Linked DNA regions of Homo sapiens: region 1 is linked to region 2. The links are contacts of gene promoters, found by promoter capture Hi-C in blood cells and fetal thymus (Javierre and others, 2016). All regions are on one chromosome and are shown on one strand. Each heading gives the region's core, a stretch centred on a gene start or on the middle of the fragment in contact. The rest is flanking DNA. Distances are from core to core; before and after follow the strand shown.

Region 1 (6,180 bases), core at 61-2,560, 480 kb after region 2:
GTCCGTCCCATATAGAACTCTAAAGACAGGTAGTAGATCCTCTGCCCAGAGAGACGGATGGGCAGGGAATGGGGTCAGGGCCACACACCAACACTCAGCCAGGCCCAGCCACGCCTGGACCTCTGGCCCGCCTGCCCTGCTCAGCAGTCCCATCCCTGTCCCCAATTTGTTTCTCCCTGTCTCAGGCTTTGGGGCCCAGCGGTTAAGGTTCTGGTCCCAGCATTCCTCTGACTTTGGACAAATCACTCTCTTTGGCCTCAGTCTCCTCATCTGGGAAATAGCGCTGGCCATACCCACTTCAGGGACTGAGGTACTCGGGAGAATGGGCACCCCTTCCCCCTGCACACACCCCCAGAGAAAAAAGTCATTTGCTCAAGGTCACACAGTGGCTAGAGACTGGGCTAGAGACTGTCACCTCCCATCCTTGCACTGTCCAGTTCCCCTTGGCCCTCAAGCCTCAATCCCAAGGAGACCCAGAGGCACCAGAAACTAGGATGCTGCCAGTGCCTGGTCTCCCAGTTTCCTGGGTCCCCTCCTGGGCCGTCTGCCCGCCCCTCCCCCACTCCCCACCGAGGCGTGTCAGGTTGCTGACATTTACCAGTGACCCCACCGGACACTTGATCTCTGCCGCCCCAGCTGCCCCAGCCCCGCCTGCTGCACAGGCACACCGCGCATACATGCAGCAACTGATGTGTCCTTCCACCTGGGCCCAGCCAGGCCACAGGCGCCGTCCTGCCCACCAGCACCCACTCCAACCTTCTCCGAGTGGGCACTGACCCTTTGCAGCCAGCCCACCTGCTCTGAGCTCCCTGACCCCCACTCCTGCCCCAGGTTTCTCCCTCAGATTGTCCCAGCACCCCTTGTGCCTGGCACCCCTGGATTCTCCACCCCCAAGAACCTAGAGTGACGAGGGGCAGCCACTTAAGTCAAGATCGCCAGCTCCCTGGCAGCGCCTTCAGCCCATACCCCCACCCCAGGCTCCCCAGCAGCACCTTGGGGTCCTTCTCATAGTAGTGCTGCTGCGTGCGGATCCAGCGCCCCACGAGGTGGTCGCGCACGGTATGGGCCAGAGCAAAGTAGTAGTCTCGTGGGGTGGCCACATTGCGGTCCTTTACGAGTGTGAAATGCAGGTGCCGGTTGAAGTTCTTTTTCAGCTCAGTCACGTTCTCCACGCCGGCCAGGCCACGCACACTGATTTGCTTTCTTTTCTCTTGGTCTGACAGGGGCCGGGACATGGCTGCAGGAGGGCGGGCCGGACTGGACTGATGGTAGAGGGGACGGCGGCCTCAGCACTGCCTCCAGCCAAGGAGTGGAGCTCCCCAGCCTCAAGGGGATTTAAAGCCTGGCTCTGGGCAGCACGCCCCGCCTCCCCTGCAATGGGAGGGTCTTGGCCTGGCAGCTCAGGGAGCTATTTTGAGGGCAAGGGGAGGAGAGGAGAGGGGAGGGAGAGGTGAGCTCCACTTGGGCCGCCAAGACTGGCCTGGCTTGTTCACAGGCCTGTGCTGACCCACTTCCTCCAGGCCTTGCACATGGTCTTCTGTCCCTTGTCCCTGCCTTTTGGAGGGTTGGATACAAGAAGGAGCAGGCAGAGTGCTGGATTGGGGAGCTGTCTGTCAGTGGCTGAACCAGGATGGGAGGCCATGTGTTGTGGCAAAAGGAACCAGGACCCCCTGCAGGCTGTGGTGCAGGAGCCAAGTCAGTGTCCCCTGACGGAAGAGGTGCAACTAGCAGAGGCCACTGGATGTCTTTGAGAAAGGGGCCCACGACCCTGCATTGCAGGGGTGGTGTGAGGGAGGTTGTGTGAGGCAGGGCCACAGCCCTCACTCCACCCCCACCGAAGCTGAGCAGCTCTAGGCTCCCCCTGTTGCTGTCCCTCAAGGAGCCCTGAAGTGACCTTTTGGAGAGGGATGCTCAGGTTACTGGCCAGCATTGGCGGGAGGCCGCTAGCCTGCAGCACGGGGCCCTGGGAACTGTAGTCCTATAGGCCCTCGGCGGTGGGAGAAACTGAGGCATTCCCCACTCCATCATCATACTGGTTTAATGACAGTAAGTTCTCCCTGTGATTCCACTGCTTAGGAAGTGATTAGAGGCCTTCTTTCACTTCTTCCTGCCACCTGGGGCCACACTCTGAGCAGGATTTTGTAAACCAGCTCTGTGACCTGGCCTATAAAATGGGTGCCTAATCTGTACCTCGAGGACCTCACCCCATTTGTGTGCATAGCCCCACAGCTTTGAGCCCTTCCCTGGAGGCTTTGGCTATCCTCCCATTCACTGCTGTGTTCTGGCCCCAGCACTGACTTGCTGTGTGACCTCAAGCTGGTTGCTTTACCTTTCTGAGCTTTGGATTCCTTCACCAAATTTAGACTCTCCAATGAGAAAAAAAAAAATCCCTGCCTCTCAGCTGCTGCCTCCTCATCTTGTGAGGGCAGGCTTCGGATCCTGCTGTTCTTTAAGAGAAAGGAACCAGGACCTTGTGCTAGTTCAAAGGCTGTTTGGGCCTCCCGGGTGGTGGGCCGGTGGAGGGGAAGAGCTGGGTGTTCTGTTCTGAAGGCCAAGGAAGCAGGTCAAAAGCCTGGACAGCTGCAGGATACTATTGAGAGCCTGGTTCGGAGAAAGCCAAGCTGTTTCTGAGAACTTTTTTTTTTTTTTTTTTGAGGTAGAGTTTCATTCTTGTCGCCCAGGCTAGAGTGCAATGGCATGATCTCAGCTCACTGCAACCTCCGCCTCCTGGGCTCAAGCAATTCTGCCTCAGCCTCCTGAGTAGCTGGGATTACAGGCACCCACCACCATGCCCAGCTAAGTTTTGTATTTTTAGTAGAGACGGGGTTTCACCATGTTGGACCAGGCTGGTCTGGAACTCCTGACCTGAGGTGATCCGCCCACCTTGGCCTCCCAAAATGCTGGGATTACAGGCATGAGCCACAGCGCCCGGCCTCCGATCACTTTCTGAGCCATGGCAGACCCAGCCCTGGAATCACCGGCTTAGTATGTGGGCCAAACTTCAAGTCCTACAGAGGTCTCCAGGCTCCCAAGCCCTGCTCTACCCCTGCCCCCAAAAGGCACGGGCACACTGTCTTCTGTGGTGCCTGCCACATTTCCAAGTAGAGAAAAAAGATCGGGAAAAAAACACCAAAATACACCTCCACAGACACGGGGATGCAAACAACTTTTCCTTACATTTTTCTGTTAATTTCCAATTTCTCTTAAGAAGTGTTTCATAAACCATTAAAAAACAATGCTGGCCGGGCGCGGTGGCTCACGCCTGTAATCCTAGCACTTTGAGGCCGAGGTGGGTGGATCACCTGAGGTCAGGAGTTCGAGACCAGCCTGATCAACATGGCGAAACCCCGTCTCTACTAAAAATACAAATATTAGCCAAGCATGGTGGCACATGCCTGTAATCCTAGCTACTCGGGAGGCTGAGGCAGGAGAATCACTTGAGCCCGGGAGGCAGAGGTTGCAGTGAGCCGAGATCACGCCACTGCACACCAGCCTGGGCGACACAGCGAGACTCTGTCTCAAAAACAAACAAAAAAACAATGCTGGCAGCTGTCTGGTCTCTTCCCCTTTCACAGTTTGCACCCCAGCCTCAGCTCCTGGGCCTCATCCCCATCCTCCACTAAGCACAGCTTGGACTCCAGCTTGGCCTGGCATCCAAGGTTCTTCACAGCCCGCACTTGTCCCTTGGAGGGTTGCTGTGAGTAGAGCTGAGACTTCTTGGCAGTCCACTGCCAGGCAGGCAGTAGCTTGTTAACCATGCCGTCACCTCACAGCCCAATCGTGGCAGCCTGCTTTGGCCACACACACCTTCTTTGCATTGACCCCTATTTCCTGCAAGACTTTATGTTCCTGCCACTGAGGACCCGATCCCCATAGACCATCCACATCTTACAGGCAGGGAAGGCCAAGTTCATTCCATCCTTTCCCAGCTACTCTCCCCTCTTGCACCCAGGGCGCTTGCTCTCAGGAACATTTTTACTGGGAAATTTTTAACTTTCTCCAACTACCTTTTCTGTGGCTTCTTTCCGTCTTTGTCATGCCATCACTCCCCACTGTTTCCAGGCTTTGTCCCGGGGTGACACTGCATGCCCCAGCCCAGCATGATCACACCTGGGCAGCACGATCTCATCTGTTTCCCTGCTTCCTCCGCCCCTCCTTGGTGTTGTGTATGCAGGTTTAATGAACCCTGAAGCACTTTTACAACCTGAACTCACTCGAGGTTATTTATGTCTAAGTTTCTAACTAGAAACCCGGCCTCCTTCCTTGGACCAATCCTGGGTTTCTCCAGAGCCCTTGGCTGAACCTCAGTAACAGAGCCCTGAGGCTGACCTTTCCCCACTGGCATTCCTCTTGCCAGGCCTTGCCAGGCCTTGAGGGACGGGGACAGTGCTGCTACAGCAGCAGAAATGAACGTGAGGAGAGGGGGTGGGGCAAGCACAGCCCTGTCACAATGTGATGGAGTAAATGGCTTGCTTTCCCACCCCAGGTGTCTTAAGACAGGTGGGCAGGCCTTTCTCTCTCTGATTCTGCCAGAGGCAAGTGCTTGCCACGGTTCAGAGGGCCAAGCCTTCCTGCTGTCTCTTCCATTTCAGGGCCTCTAGCACCTTGGAGACTGATGCCTTAGTCAGCCACTTCCTCTCCAAAACCTTAACAAAAGCTGACGGCAGGGAGCAGAAAGGGAGGGAGCACAGGAATGGAGCTGGCCTGGGGGAGAGAAGCGGAGGAGATAGCTAAGCTGTGGTTAAGTCATTTATTGATTTTATTTCTAAAACCCACATAGCGCCACTTTGCCGCTTCCAGAGCTTCAAAGAGCTAATTAACCACCCAATGAGCCCACCAGGGAAACCAAGCTTGTGGGAGAAGCAATGAGGTGAAGCCAAGGTCAAAGAGGGTAGCCAGGCCCCAGGCCCTGCCCCCATTCTGCCACTTAAGGACAAAGGCAAAAAAGATGTCCTCCTTTTGGTGAGCCGAAGTTTAGGGCTTGGCTGGGGAAACGCACTGAGCCTGCCTTGCTTCTGAGGGCTCCTCAAGCCTGGCAGACCCATAGCAAAGCACAGGCCTCCTGGACGGGGGACCAGACACCCCAGTAAACAGCAGTAGCCAGCCCTAGCTCACAGCTGGAAAGCAGCCCAGGCCAGTTGCTGGCCCCAGCAGCCAGATGCTGGGGGAGCCTACTGTCCCTCAGCCGCCCTGAAGGAAGGAGAGGCAGGTGGAACCAGGGCAGCTCTAAGGCACCTCTGCCCAGGAGAGGACCTCACTACCTGGTGGAGACTCCACATGGATTTTTCTGGAACCCTAACAGTAACTACCCACTCGCCGCCCAAGACATGGAAAAAAAGCAGAAGACCCTTTGAAAAGTGCTTGCAAAGCACAAGATGGGGCACTTTATCCTGTCCCCCCGACCCCCGCCAAAGCCTACAGCGCTGGCAGGCTGCAAGTCACCAGCAGAGAAGGAAAAAAGCCACTTGGCGGTTTTAATTTTAGCTGCTCTGTGCCTGACAGGCAGGATTAGTTGGCTTGACCTTTAGTGTTGATGCCTCCCCAGGCCCAGGGCCTTAGGTGGCAGCTTCCAGGCACAAATCACCACTGGAGCTCATCAAACGTGGACGTCTGAGCCCCAGGAAAAAGCCTTCAAAGGACAGAGACTAGAAAAATGAGCAGTGAACAAGGAGGGGCAAAATTGGTTCTCAGCGATGTTAACTAGTCACCAAAGGGGAGACTGTGGAGCCACCCACACACTGAGCTCCCACCACCAAAGCCACACACAGGAGGCAGGTGGTGGGCTTCCCTAATTAACCACCCACAGTCTCACCCCCCCGGACCTGGTGCTGAACGAAAGTTAAGGCACCTTTGGTGCTGCTGCTGCTGCTGGTGGTAGAGGAAGTTTATGTGAAAAGAAAAACCGGGCGGGGCAGGCATTAAAAAGAAAATAAAGAAGCAGACCCAGAAAACCACACTGCTCTTTTATTCAATGGAACATCCCCGCTTTAGCGCAGTGTTGAATCTAACACCGAAAAAAGCCCAGAGAAATTTCTGCAGATAAACCAGTGAAGAGAACGCGCAGTATACATTATTGTCAACAGAATCACTTCATGGAGAGGGAAGCGGGAGGAAAAAGGAAGGAGAATGAACAAGGGGCTCAAACCCCTACACACTGCAAAACATTCAGACATTTGGGAT
Region 2 (6,127 bases), core at 716-3,215:
AAACCCCATCTCTAATAAAAATACAAGAAATTAGCCCGGCATGGTGACACGCGCCTGTAGTCCCAGCTACTCTGGAGGCTGAGGCAGGAGAACTGCTTGAACCCAGGAGGCAGAGGTTGCAGTGAGCCGAGATTGCACCACTGCACCCCAGCCTGGGCAGCAGAGTGAGACTCCGTCTCAGGAAAAAAAAAAAAAAAAAAAGAAAAAGTAAAAAATAAATTAACTGGGTGTGGTCCACACACCTGTATTCCCAGTTACGTGGGAGGATCACTTAAGCCCAGAAGTTCCGGGCTGCAGTGAGCTGAGATCGCACCTCTGTACTCCCTCCTGGGTGATAGAGCGAGACCCTGTCTCAAAACAAAACAAAACAAACAGAAAAAAAGAAAGCAAGCTATGGGGTCCAATCTGAGAGAATCGAGTGTGGGTGTTTATCCGTAAGAGAGCGAGGGGAAAGAGGCCTCTTAAGCCTTCTTAATCCTGAAAATGGGGAGGAGGTCTTTTAAGCTGCAGTGCCAGAGTGACATGACCTAGTTTTCTATTTTTAGAGATGGGGTCTGGCTATGTTGCCCAGGCTGGTCTTGAATTCCTGGGCTCAAGCCAGCCTCCTGAGTTGCTGGGACTACAGACATGTGCCACCCCACCCAGCTTGACCTGGTTTTTGTGTTCAGAAGATATCTGTTGTTGTTCCAGGTGCCAAGGCCAGTGCTGGGCACAGGGGTGCTAGAGCCTACTGAGAAATGGACATAGAACCCCAGTGTCCATCCTTCCATCTTGGAGCCTGTGCTTCTCACCCCACACAGCCCTGCTGTCTGGGAGGACTGTCTGCCCCTTGAGGTCATCTGCCCCTGGCCACTGTGCCAGGACAGTCCTGCTGTGGGTACGAGCCACAGGGCAAGAAAGAACACATCTGGGAGCTGGAAGGCCTAATCCCAGGGAAAGCATGTAGCCTGGGGCAGGGCACCAAGGAGGCTTCCAGCCCCCACATTCTAAGGAAAGAAACACCAGGAAGGTGTGGCCTTAGGCAGGCCCCTTTTCCTTTTCGGATCACTGCCTGCCTGTCACTGATTTCTGTCCTAACCCCACACTAATAGCTGCTATATATATATATATGTATTTTAAGAGCTGGAGTCTCCCTAAGTCACTCAGGCTGGCCTTGAACTTCTGGGCTCAAGCGATCCTCCTGCCTTGGCCTCCCAAAGTGCTGAGATTACAGGTGTGAGCCACCACGCCCGGCAGCAACCATTTTTTAGCTTTAATGTGCACCAGCTCTGTAATCAAGTGCATCCTATATGTTCCTGCTAATTAACTCAACAGTCCTACAATGGTGGTTATTAATTGCTGTTTTACGAAAGAGGAAACTGGGGCTCTGAGAGTTTGGGGACCGACCCAAAGCATTCAGTGCCTGTGGATGCAACTGGGATGCAGGGAGCCAGTGGGCTGGGGGTGAGGTGTCCCGGCAGGTGGAGGTGGTGGGGTACTTACCTCCATGATGGCTGCTGCTGGTTGGCTGCTCCTGCTGGTGACTGGCGTCCCACAGGAGGCCTGGGGCCTGGCGATGATGCTTGCCGGAGCCTGAGGGCCCGTCCCCTGCGGGGCTGGGGCCCAGGCCCCTCTCTGCAGAGCTGGAGTCTTCCTGCTCACTCGGCTCAAACTCTGGGATCTGGAACATGCTCTGGGCTGTGAGGACAAGATGTTACGTAGTCAAGGCACAGCTGGGGCCAACGGTGGCCCTGGAAGGCAGAGGCAGGTACCCCTGGCTTCCTCTCCCACCGTAGCGCCCCCAGGCCCGCCAGGCCTCCTGGGCCCTCATCTGTCTGCCGGGTCTGGCCTGGCAGGGAGCTGAGGCTGTCGGCTCAGGACCTCAGTCTCCCCTCAGAACCCCGGTGGACCCAGGCCCCGCCCCGCCCGTGGTGACGGCGCACAGGTCTCACCCCAAGCCCGATCTCGAGGCCCCTGACCCGGGCCTGCCGCCTCCCTCCAGCACCCCGGGCTCCGGGCCCTAGTTGCTTGGGCAACGGGAACTGTCAGCGACCTGGCCCAATCACCTCTCGGAACGTCACTCGGGTAGGTCCAGAGGCGGGGTCAACCCGGCCCGGCCCCGCCCCCCCGCCGGATCCAAGGCTCCTCGTCCGCATCCTTTTTCCTCCCTCCTTCGGCCCCGGGGCTCACATCCTCGCTGCCTCACACCTTGGGCGTGTGTGGGAGCAGGAGAGGGATTCTCTGGGGTCCCCATTTGGAACCTGGAGACCCACTTCTGCCAACAAGTCCTTCAGCCCCTCTGGGCCTTAGTTTCCCCCCAGTGAAGTGGGGATAGTGACAGCTCCCCCGGGAGCCAGTGAAAACTTTGTGAAGGGAGTGATTACTGCGGGCGAAGGCGCTTGGCACAGCCACAACTGAAGCTCAGCCGTCGGATGTGATTATTGTTGCTATTGTTACCGCTCCGCCTGGACTGGGTGCCCGGTCGGAAAGTCCCGCTCCCCGCTCCTCCTCCCAGGCGCGGAAGCTTCGCGCCGCCCGCCTCGGGGGACACCTCCCGCGCCATCTCGGGGGCACTGGAGATAAGGAAAGGAACCTCCTCCCTGGCTGGGATGGCTGCCCGGGCGCGGGAGGAGGGCCGGGGACCCGGTGAGGGAGGACCGTAGGGCCCGTGGGGGCTTCACGCCTGGCAGGCGGCCGGCCAGGTGAGCAGGGCCGCGGGCGCGCCGGGGCGAGGGGCGGGCCCGCGCGGGGGATTCGGGGCTCCGCGGGTTCAGGCCCGGGGGCGGGGCCCGGGGGCCATCTTGGCTATGGGCGGAAGTTTTCTTCAGAGACCGAGGGACGGGAATCCGTTGCCGCCCCCGGCCGGGCGGCACGACCCCGATTTGGGTATAGGAGAGAGGAGCGTGGGAACTGGCGGACCCCCATACAAGTAAAGGCGGGCGGCACGGGGCACGGCCCACCCGGGGACCCCCTGGATGCGGCACGGCCCCCGCAACTCGGCCGCCCTCCTGCCGCCTCCCGTAACCCCGGGCGCCCGCCAGCGGCGCAGCTCGCGCCAATTCTCGTACGGTTTCACGCCGGGTGCGGCGCTGGACTGCGGAGCCAGCCGGGCCGCTGCGCAATTTGCGTAGCGAACGGCGCCCGCGCAGGCGCGGAGGGGGAGGGGGGCGGAGCAGCGGGAGCCGGGGAGCCGGAGCCCCGGGTCCCCACGACCTGAGCCGGCTCTCCCATCAGCGGCCTGAGGACCTGGCGTCCGCCTCCTCCCTCCCCTTGAGGCTGGAGCGTGGACGCGGTGGGGGAGGGTGGGGCGGGGGCAGCTTTCGAGAATTACGAGGACAGGAGGCAGAGGCCCTCCCCATCCGCATTATTGGAGGAGAGAGAGCCTCCCCCAGCTTGGGGAGGGGGAGAGCGGGGCATTGGGCGCCCCTCGCAGCGGCCGCTGCCCTGACCCGACGGGTATCAGCCGGCTCTCCCCCTCCACCCAGGACGACATGAACGACCGAGGCCAGGGAGTCCTCTCCTTGGGCCTCTGCATCCCCCCATCCTTGGCTCTGGGGTAGGCCCAGGGAGGAGACACCCCCAACCCCTATCCGGTCTGTCCTGGAGAAAAGAGACTGCCCTTCCATGCCCCTGAGTGAGGGGCCTGGGGCCCAGGCTGCCTGTGTTCCCCAAGGGCAAGGGTCTCTCTGTTGAGGAGGAGGGGCCTGTCAGCCACAACTTCTTTCCTCCTGAGCGCCCCATCTCCCTCTCTGCACCCTGCAATTCCCACCCCTCCGTATTTATTTCCCTGGTCCCGCCGACAGTCCCTCCTTGTCTGTCTCCGGGATTCAGGCCTCCCTCCCTGACATGGAGAGTAACCTGTCTGGCCTGGTGCCTGCTGCCGGGCTGGTGCCTGCGCTGCCACCTGCTGTGACCCTGGGGCTGACAGCTGCCTACACCACCCTGTATGCCCTGCTCTTCTTCTCCGTCTATGCCCAGCTCTGGCTGGTGCTTCTGTATGGGCACAAGCGTCTCAGCTATCAGACGGTGTTCCTGGCCCTCTGTCTGCTCTGGGCCGCCTTGCGTACCACCCTCTTCTCCTTCTACTTCCGAGATACTCCCCGCGCCAACCGCCTGGGGCCCTTGCCCTTCTGGCTTCTCTACTGCTGCCCCGTCTGCCTGCAGTTCTTCACCTTGACGCTTATGAACCTCTACTTTGCCCAGGTAACCAACTGTGGTCCCGGGTGGGGGGCGGGAGGTGGCAAGCCTCAAGGACCCACAGGAGTGAAGGGCATCTCTGCTCCTAGGTGGTGTTCAAGGCCAAGGTGAAGCGTCGGCCGGAGATGAGCCGAGGCTTGTAAGTACTCGGGACACTGGTGGGCTCAGCCTCCAGGTCAGGGGCAGGTGACAGTCCCATGTAGATCCCTTCCCACCTCTCAGGGCTGAGACAAAGGCAACCCAGGGAATGTCTGTGGAAGATCTTGGAAAAGTTAAAGCACCTGGCGCAGATGGCTCAGCAGAGGCCTTGCAGATCTGCAAGGCACAGGAATAGGAATGCTTGTGGTAGTGTGAGGGAGAGGGCCCCAGTGTCATCCACCATGGAGGGCGAGCTGGAGGCTCCAGCCCATGGAAGCACCAAAGCCATATGCACTCCTGGGTGACCTGGGGCCGCAATGCCCTCGTCATTTGTACAGTGTCTTACGGTTTATAAAGAGCTTTCCCAGCCATCTTTTATTTGTACAATTTCCCTGAGAGGCTACTATCCTCCCTTGAGAGATGAAGAAACTGAGGCCCAGCCAGGTAAGACAGCAGGATCAAGGTCGCAGAGCTGGGGCTCAGACAGAGACTTCTGACTCCAGTTGGTGCACCTTCCGAAGTACCATGGCTGTCAGTCACCTTCTGACCTTTTTGGGCCTCAGTTTCTCCATCTGTAAGAGTGGAGGAACAGGGCTCAGACTGGATGCCCTGAGTTTTGTCGACATTGGGGTTTCCTGCAGGAGGTGGGGCAGGTGGTGAGTGCTGAGGGCTGTTGAGGGCCCGCGCTGACTGTGCTGTGGCTGCAGGCTCGCTGTCCGAGGGGCCTTTGTGGGGGCCTCGCTGCTCTTTCTGCTGGTGAACGTGCTGTGTGCTGTGCTCTCCCATCGGCGCCGGGCACAGCCCTGGGCCCTGCTGCTTGTCCGCGTCCTGGTGAGCGACTCCCTGTTCGTCATCTGCGCGCTGTCTCTTGCTGCCTGCCTCTGCCTCGTCGCCAGGCGGGCGCCCTCCACTAGCATCTACCTGGAGGCCAAGGTAGGGCTGCAGCACTGATGCCCAGGTGTCTTTTGGGTCTCTCGGCAGCGGTTCTCAGGGTGTAGAGGAAGCTGGGAGCCTTCTCTCCCTGAGGGTCCTCTGTTGTTACCTGTGCCAGGGGACCAGTGTGTGCCAGGCGGCCGCGATGGGTGGCGCCATGGTCCTGCTCTATGCCAGCCGGGCCTGCTACAACCTGACAGCACTGGCCTTGGCCCCCCAGAGCCGGCTGGACACCTTCGATTACGACTGGTACAATGTGTCTGACCAGGTGGGCATACGCATGTCTGCCACCTCCTTAGTAGCCGTGGCACCTTGGCCCCAGCTGGCCTGGGCCCTGTCCCACTACCCCTTTGGCGTGACTGCAGACTGGCACCAGCCCCTGCCTTCCCACAGGCGGACCTGGTGAATGACCTGGGGAACAAAGGCTACCTGGTATTTGGCCTCATCCTCTTCGTGTGGGAGCTACTGCCCACCACCCTGCTGGTGGGCTTCTTCCGGGTGCACCGGCCCCCACAGGACCTGGTAAGGGTCTGCTCCCTCTTCTGTGGGGCCAGTGGAGGGGGCGGATGTTGCAAATCCTGGGTTGGAGTCTGGGGTTGGGCCTGGGAGGCCAGTGCAGGACAGGAGTAAGTATCGATGATGGCTTCCTCCCCCAGAGCACCAGCCACATCCTCAATGGGCAGGTCTTTGCCTCTCGGTCCTACTTCTTTGACCGGGCTGGGCACTGTGAAGATGAGGGCTGCTCCTGGGAGCACAGCCGGGGTGAGAGCACCAGGTAGGAGCCGTGGCACTGCCTCAGTACCCCTGCCCTACCCGCCCACCCCGCTGGCTCCATCAAGCTATGGGGGACCGAGATAGCCGGGTCTTGCCTTCCACCCCT

What was found. The method cuts DNA at HindIII sites, captures the fragments that hold promoters and counts their contacts. A CHiCAGO score of 5 or more calls a contact.
Region 1: a contact is called between the fragment with the promoter of PYGM here and the fragment with the promoter of BAD in region 2, in 1 of 17 cell types (naive B cells). The highest score is 5.4, in naive B cells.

The regions. Positions count from the first base shown.
Region 1 is chr11:64,758,664-64,764,843 of GRCh38, forward strand. PYGM (glycogen phosphorylase, muscle associated) reads right to left here and starts at 1,311. Exons shown (of 20, transcript NM_005609.4): 1 at 993-1,311; 2 at 1-41. The coding sequence starts at 1,235. SF1 (splicing factor 1) reads right to left here. Exons shown (of 13, transcript NM_004630.4): 13 at 5,943-6,180. RefSeq lists enhancers at 1-16, 17-720, 721-1,425, 1,426-2,128, 3,465-3,514 and 5 more. The HindIII fragment of the contact is 7,098 bases long and covers 1-4,848 here.
Region 2 is chr11:64,282,700-64,288,826 of GRCh38, forward strand. It overlaps BAD (BCL2 associated agonist of cell death), which reads right to left and starts at 1,966. Exons shown (of 4, transcript NM_032989.3): 1 at 1,932-1,966; 2 at 1,483-1,677. The coding sequence starts at 1,669. It overlaps GPR137 (G protein-coupled receptor 137), which reads left to right and starts at 3,149. Exons shown (of 7, transcript NM_001170880.2): 1 at 3,149-4,182; 2 at 4,266-4,315; 3 at 5,022-5,247; 4 at 5,366-5,515; 5 at 5,641-5,769; 6 at 5,904-6,022. The coding sequence starts at 3,826. RefSeq lists silencers at 1,846-2,135, 2,486-3,225. The HindIII fragment of the contact is 5,985 bases long and covers 1-2,501 here.